2 separate regions of the Homo sapiens genome follow, and region 2 is linked to region 1. Evidence: promoter capture Hi-C in 16 types of primary human blood cells and fetal thymus (Javierre and others, 2016). All regions are on one chromosome and are shown on one strand. The core of a region is centred on a gene start or on the middle of the fragment in contact, and the rest is flanking DNA. Distances in the headings are between cores, read along the strand shown.

Evidence for each region. The method cuts DNA at HindIII sites, captures the fragments that hold promoters and counts their contacts. A CHiCAGO score of 5 or more calls a contact.
Region 2: a fragment that was not itself captured here is called in contact with the fragment with the promoter of DUOXA1 in region 1 in 2 of 17 cell types (naive B cells and erythroblasts); the score reaches 6.5 in naive B cells.

The regions. Positions count from the first base shown.
Region 1 is chr15:45,127,974-45,131,428 of GRCh38, forward strand. DUOXA1 (dual oxidase maturation factor 1) reads right to left here and starts at 1,906. Exons shown (of 9, transcript NM_001276266.2): 1 at 1,879-1,906; 2 at 1,487-1,642; 3 at 1,045-1,161. DUOX1 (dual oxidase 1) reads left to right here and starts at 2,021. Exons shown (of 34, transcript NM_175940.3): 1 at 2,021-2,125. The HindIII fragment of the contact is 6,225 bases long and covers 1-2,443 here.
Region 2 is chr15:44,587,913-44,591,367 of GRCh38, forward strand. SPG11 (SPG11 vesicle trafficking associated, spatacsin) reads right to left here. Exons shown (of 40, transcript NM_025137.4): 28 at 1,340-1,502. Among named protein-coding and RNA genes, the nearest start is that of EIF3J, 52 kb to the left of the region's middle. The HindIII fragment of the contact is 834 bases long and covers 1,521-2,354 here.

The DNA.
Region 1 (3,455 bases), core at 656-3,155:
TGACAAAATTGGGATGCTTTCTCATGGGGTGGGGGGAGTTTCCCACACTTTAGGGTCCTCCTTTCTCACCTGGCCTAGGGAGGAGGAGGCAGCATCCTCCCTTTCCAGGCTCCCTTATGTACTGAAGACTTTCCTTATGCTCAATCTTATTATAGACACAATTACCCAATCCTTACCTACCACAGGTTGAAGTGGAGTTCCTATGTGTGTATGAGAGGTGGGTAAAACATAAAGTTACAATCTTTAAGAAAATTCAGCCTAGAACAACCTCCAGCCTTCTTCATTCAAAGTTATGTGCTAACGTCTTGTGGCCTCTCTTGTAGCCTGACAGGACTTTTTTCCTGAAGTCTTCCCCCTTGCCCACCTCCCCCATCTGCTGGAAACTATAGAGTAAGGGCCACTAATTCTCCACAAGTGGGGAGTGGGTGACATGGCTGGAGTTGCCAAGACCTCTGATTGGTAATGCACAGCTACTGCAATGTGATGCTTTTTTCTCTGATTGGGGTAGACCCCATTAAACGTTTACAGCTGTGGCTAGCTAAGGGGACCCTGTCAGGAACTCCTGTGCTAGACTTTCCTCTTCAAGGAAGGGGTCTGTGTGTACGTGTGTATCTGTGTATGAATGTATATGTGTGTTGTTGCACAAAAATAGGAGTTAAGTGGAGAAATTGAACAAGATCTGAAAAGTGGATTGGAGGCAGGATTCCCCAGTAAGGGCTGATGTGGATAAGGAATTCAAGGGTGCAGAATCATGCAAGCCAAAGTATCCAGACTCGAGTTAAACTGGGATGGCGATTCGATGTCTATAAACCTTGTGGCATTTATGGCCTTAAGAGGTTTTCCTTGCCTCCCCAGTTTCTTACCAAACTCTCTCTTTGAAGAACTCCCACTTGATCCGAACTTGGTCTGGATGAAAGCAGGAAGTGCAGCCCTAGGTGCCAGGGCGGGAGCAAGCACTTCAAGACCCCCTCCAAAATCACCTGGACCGCACAGATCTAAGCAGCCGCATCCCCCACCACCCACACCCGGACCACTATTCCCTACCTTCCCCTCTTCCAAACAGTGCGTGTGTGGCAGCCTGCGCCTCTCGCCTTCCCCCGTGGAACCTCACACGAAGCGCCCCCGGGGGTGTGATTAAAGAGGGAACCAGGTCCCGACGTTCTGTGAACAAACGCGCGCCCTTACTCTCAGTGGGGCTCCCGTCCGACCCCCACTCCTCTCCTAACTCACGTAAGGACCCGGCTGTGACCGGACAAACCGGGTCTGGGGTGCTTCCAGTCACTCTTCAAGTCACTCCCAAACTTCTCAGACTGCACCCGAGGCTCTGCGGCGCCGCCTCCCTCTCCCGGCCTGGTACAGAGAAGGGCTGGGTGCGCCAGGACAGTAGTACCGGGGTCTGCCAGCTCCGCAGAGGTCCCTCCAATCCCCCCTCCTCCTCTGCGCCCCCCCACCCATGCCCAGCAATCCCAGCAGCTCCAGCGCAAACCTAGCGACGCAGTTCCGGGTCTGGCGGGGCGCGGGCGCGGCTCGCAGGGCGGTGGGACCCCCAAGACCTCACGAGGATCCCCGGAGGGAGACGTGACTCCGGGGTCTTAGAGGGGTTTAGGTCGGATGGGTGACTTGCTTTGACGCCTGGCCTGGTCTGTGGGTGGCAGGTGATCGATGGCCTTGGACTTGGAGCCCAGACCCGACGGTGTCGAGAGGATCTGAGGAGAGTCTCCCCTCCCCATACCCTCTCCGCCTCCCACCCTCTCCCCAGCCCCATGGGACTTGTGAAGGCGGACTTGCTTTTTTCGCCGTCCACACAACCGCACTAGCCGGGCCTTCGGCACCGACGGAACATCTCTACCTGCGCCCCGGGAGCCCTCGCCGTCTCACCTCGCGCGCTGCCGTCCGCTGGAAGCACCTCCGCGCCTCCCCAGGCGCCAGACTCCATCCCGCCCCACTGCGCCCCGCCCCGTGGCTGAGCCGAGCCGGGCCGTGCCTTCCCCTCCTCACCCCCAGCCCCGCCCGTCCCGGCGCAGAGCTGCAGAGGCACCGGACGAGAGAGGGCTCCGCGGGCCCAGCTGGCAGCCAGGCCGGAGACAAGTTGCAGTCCCGGGCTCTGGTGACGCCGTGGCCGCAGGTCAGATTTGGGAGGGCTTTTCCCGGCCCGCGGGCCTGGGCGCTCCGGGGGAGGGAGCTCCAAGGGCAGGGTGGCGGGGGAGCCGCAGCTCCTCCACGTTATGGAAGAAAGGGGAATGCTAGCCCCCTGCGCCTCCGATCTTATCCTAAGGCTAAAACCGGTCCTGTTAGGGCCTGTCCTCTGCCCAATCAAGGTTTTGAGAGACTGGGTTCTTTGGGACCTGGGAATGTTGGGTGGCCTAGTTTGCCTGGGCCTGCGGGTTCTTCTCCTGGCACCAGCACAACATACCAGGGAGGGAGCTTTGGGCTTTAGGATCCAAGCTTTCCCCCTCAGCCCTCCCTTAGGACCAAGATGGCCTTGACCCATCTTCCTCCCACCTCAGGGCCACCAGGGTCACCACTCTAGGGCTTCAGGCTGGAAAAGCAGCCATGTGGGGCAAGAACAGGCAGGCCTGTGTTCTCTCTCTGGTTCTGCCGCTGGCTCTGCCTGGGGCTTCACTGCCCTGTCCTGGGCAACCTTCCTGTCAAGGTTGTTGAGAAGTTACTGCCCCATCGTTGTGTAAATCATTAAGGGCAACCCACCCACAAGGAGTGGTTATTAAGCATGTCCACCTTCCTCTTCAGGTCATCCCCACACAGCCTGGTCTGAAAGCCCATTTCATGCCCTTAGGGGCTGAGTGGTACATTAGCGTTGAGGCCCAGGATCCTGAAGACATGGTGGTGGCGGGGGAGGGGAATGACATCTTGGGATCAGGGAAGGACCGCTGTGGCTACTTCCGTATATCCAGCTTTACAGCTTCAACCATCCAGAGCCCAGCTCTTCATGCACTATTAAAGGCCAGCACCTGGACAGACTCTGTGAAATGCAGCAGGTGATACTGAGCTTTCCAGTTATGGCAGGGCCTAGGTTTTTTCATTTAATAGGAGATGGAGTAGGGATGAGGTCACTCCCTGGGTTCTCTCCTCTAGACAACCCATCCAGGAACCCTGATGTTTGGCTGGGGATGAGGCTTTCCCTGAGCTCCTTTCTTCCTCTATCCTAACCCCAATCTCCAGGTTGCCTTCAGGAGGTCTTCGCCGGCTTTAGGTACTCCTTACTCGCACTCAGGAGTCCCAGCCTGAGTCCTCTGCTGCCTCTGTTTCCCTGTTGACTCTGGGTGGAGAGAGAGAGAGCAGGAAGCTTGCACTAAATACATGAGCACCTGGTAGTGCATCCCTTCTGGATCCAACCAGAGGAGACAAGCTCCCGCCTACCCTCTCTATATCACATTTGCCCAACACCTGTCACTTGCTTTGAATTAAACCTCCTTCTCACATTTGATTCTGGCAAC
Region 2 (3,455 bases), core at 688-3,187, 540 kb before region 1:
TCAATGAAAACACCTATATGTTAAAAGGACTTATCATTTGGTCTGCACAGTAACTGGTAAGTGCCATCTTATATCCACTACATTTTGGAAACACCTCTTTTTCCTTTTAGTCATCAGATCCACAGCCTGCAACAACTGGCTCTGAGCTCAGGATTCTGTCAGTGTTCTGTGCAAATCTGAGCTCTCCAGCTGAACATCTGTGAGTTTAAATGTGAGAAAATAACCCTAGTAGCCAAACTGTCAGAATATAGTATAAAAGAACAACATTATCATTCAATAAAAAACTTGAAATTATCAAACAAGTGGAAAAGATAGTAAGGCAATATTTGTTTGAGTCAATCAGCAACAAGTTTAGAGACTGCCAACATCTTGAGGAATCTGCAAAAAAAAAAACAAACAAAAAAACAAGCACAATTTTCTCTGAAACTTTAAAAATGAATTGTGCATTTCTGAAATAGGGTTTGTGACCCTGAGCAATGCTAAGGTTACTTGCCATAGAGAAGAAGATAGTGACAGGGTGTGGGAGTTAAGTCAGGGTGGTGGGAAAAATTGTAGAGGAAAAACTATAATAGTTATAGGAAATATTATATAAGAATAATTATATACTAATATAGGAAAAATTATATAAGATAGTTATAGGAAATAAACACAAACCTTCTCAGAAGGCTGGGCCGTTTGCATAGCTTCAGTGACAGATTTGGCTGAAGGCAGCCTAATCCTCTTTACCTTTAGTTGATAGCAAAAAAGCAAATAACAAGGGAATGTGGGGAAGTATATCTAAATAGCTTGTTTACTCATGTGGTCCTAAGACCAACCTTTGATCAACCGCGGGTACATAATTGCTCTCTACTCAGGGGATCGGCAATGTTAATTACCGTCTAATGGTGTTTACTCAAAACCTTTGCCATTTAATCTGTACTAAATAAATGCAAACTTTGCCAGCTTATGAAGCAATGCTCCAGACTCAGAGCAGAGCCCCTTAGCTGGACTGACAGGCAAAATATCTCTGTCAGTGTATGTCTTGATCTGTTGCTAGGTCAGCGTCTGTGGGTTGGACCCCCACAACAGGGTAATGTAGAAGCCAGCCAGGAGGAAATGTGGCTATTTGGTAACTGCTTAGAATGAGATGATTGGTTATATCATTTATGTTTTATGCTGTTGTATTATTTCTTGAATATTTTAACCACAATTTAAAGTTCTCTGTAACTTGTTTACTCCCAGTTGTAGACTGTAAGTTAATGTTACATGCATTTTAATTTCCTAACTACCCCTCTAAAGTATTTTCAAGATTAAGAAAGCTAACTTCTTAATAGCAACTTAACTGTAAGGATTGTCTTACCATCAGAGAAGAGATGCTCTCTTTCAACAAAGAGCTGTAAAAGCTTCCCCAGCTCATACTGGGTCTTACACTGCTGTAGCATAAGCTTCAAAAGGAAACACACCTGATCCTCCAGCCACATGGCAGGGATGACAGGGTGGACCTTTGTGGCTGCTGTGTTAAGCTATGAAAGAAAAAGAGAAGCTTAGGGAAAGCAGTTTCATGAGAATAGCAAATCAAAACCTCCAAATCTGGGAACCTCTAAGAAAGCTAAAATTCCCTCAAAAGCCATCGCCTGTCATGAGGCACTTACTCAGTTCCTTTCCAAATGGCAGGAACTGGTAATGGGGCTCAGAGGACTGGCAAAAACAAGCCCTCCTCAGCAGCTTTGCACATTGTCTCTTTGTGGAAAGTTCTGGTATAGAGCTGCATGTGTGAAAAAGATGGGCAAGAGTCCTAAAGACTGAATGCTAACTACAGAGTTAATGTAAAATATTCCTACTTAGTGACTGTCAAATTAATAGCCCTTTGAGTCACTGTAAAATTAACCAGATGTTTCACTTAGCAGCTTCTTTATTTTTATTTTATTTTTTGAGACGCAGTCTCACTCTGTTGCCTAGGCTGGAGTACAGTGGTGCAATCTTGGCTCACTGTAACCTCTGCCTCCCGGCTTCAAGTGATTTCTCCTGCCTCAGCCTCCTGAGTAGCTGGGATTACAGGCACACGCCACCACGCCTGGCTAATTTTTTTGTATTTTTAATAGAGATGGGGTTTCACCATGTTGGTCAGACTGGTCTCGAACTCCTGACCTGATGATCCGCCTGCCTTGGCCTCCCAAAGTGCTGGGATTACAGGCGTAAGCCACCGTGCCTGGCCTAGCAACTTCTTTAAAGAGGGATGTAGGCCTGCCCTTGAATCCAGAGGATTTTAAATTCACATTATAAAAACCGCTTAGAAAGACGTGCCTAACATTACTTCGCTAGTTCTACCACTTTGCTTGTAGTTTATTCTTGTTAGAGAACGGTCTCAGTTAAGAAGCTTGGATTTACATCATTTCAACTGAATGCTAAAAATATTAATAGGAAGATGAATTCAAGTGGCAGGCTGCATTTCTACAAGTAGGTGTGGCAAAAATATCTTCTAGGATGCTGCAGGAAAAGGCTGATTTCAGAGGAGTGGTGCTTTCTTACCTGCTGCTGCTGTTTTTTTTTCTTTCCTTTGTGTTGGTAAAGAACAGGGTCTTCACTATGTTGCCCAGGCTGGTCGAACTCCTGGCCTCAAGCCATTCTCCCACCTCTGCCTCCCTGAGTGCTGGGATTACAGCTATGATGATAGCGCCCAACAGATGCTTCTTTTGTGACTTCATTCCTGATTTTTACTTTGGTTCTTGCTTCGTATTATTTTTGGAAGACTAATATTTGGTTCTCAGTCACTATAGTCTCGTAGTTCACTCTAGACTTCATACAACATAATCACAAAAAATACTGGGCGTTTTGGTGGAATAGAAACTTAACTGCCGGGTTTCAAAACACGTATATGTTAATAGGCACCAAAAACTTATAATTCAGTACCTCTGTGCCTAGTGCTGAGTTAGGCCCTAGTCTTGGCTGAATACTTCCTGTATACTTCTGAACACACCATAAAAGTCATTCTGAAGGTAAGTTTAACATGCAGGGCTTTTTGGCTGTGACGTAGGTTTTAGAAGACAATATTCCCTTCAATGGAATTCTCAAGACTGCCAAGATCTTAAATTAAGGAATGGTTTATAAAATCATGTGTCACATTACTGCTATCTTCTTACCTCTATTTGGAATGAATTTCCTTCTCTACTGTCTTTCCTATGCCCTATGTGGTCCTCCCTGTCCATTTCTCATCCTCTTCTCTTAAATTCCAATAGGACTTACCTACTCTAAGTAAAAAGATCATTTTGCTTTTGCAGCATCTCCCTTAATGCAAAGTTGTTTAAGGGAATTATTATGAGAAAGAACACTGGTAGTCAGCTCACTAAATTGCTACTATTCCTGCTTAGACACTGTTCCTGAATGTTTTCTATAACCATTCTGACTGGATTTTGATGTTTAGAAGAACAAAAGTTATATAATACTTCTATTCTTTTTTAAAAAATATTTCTCTTCTT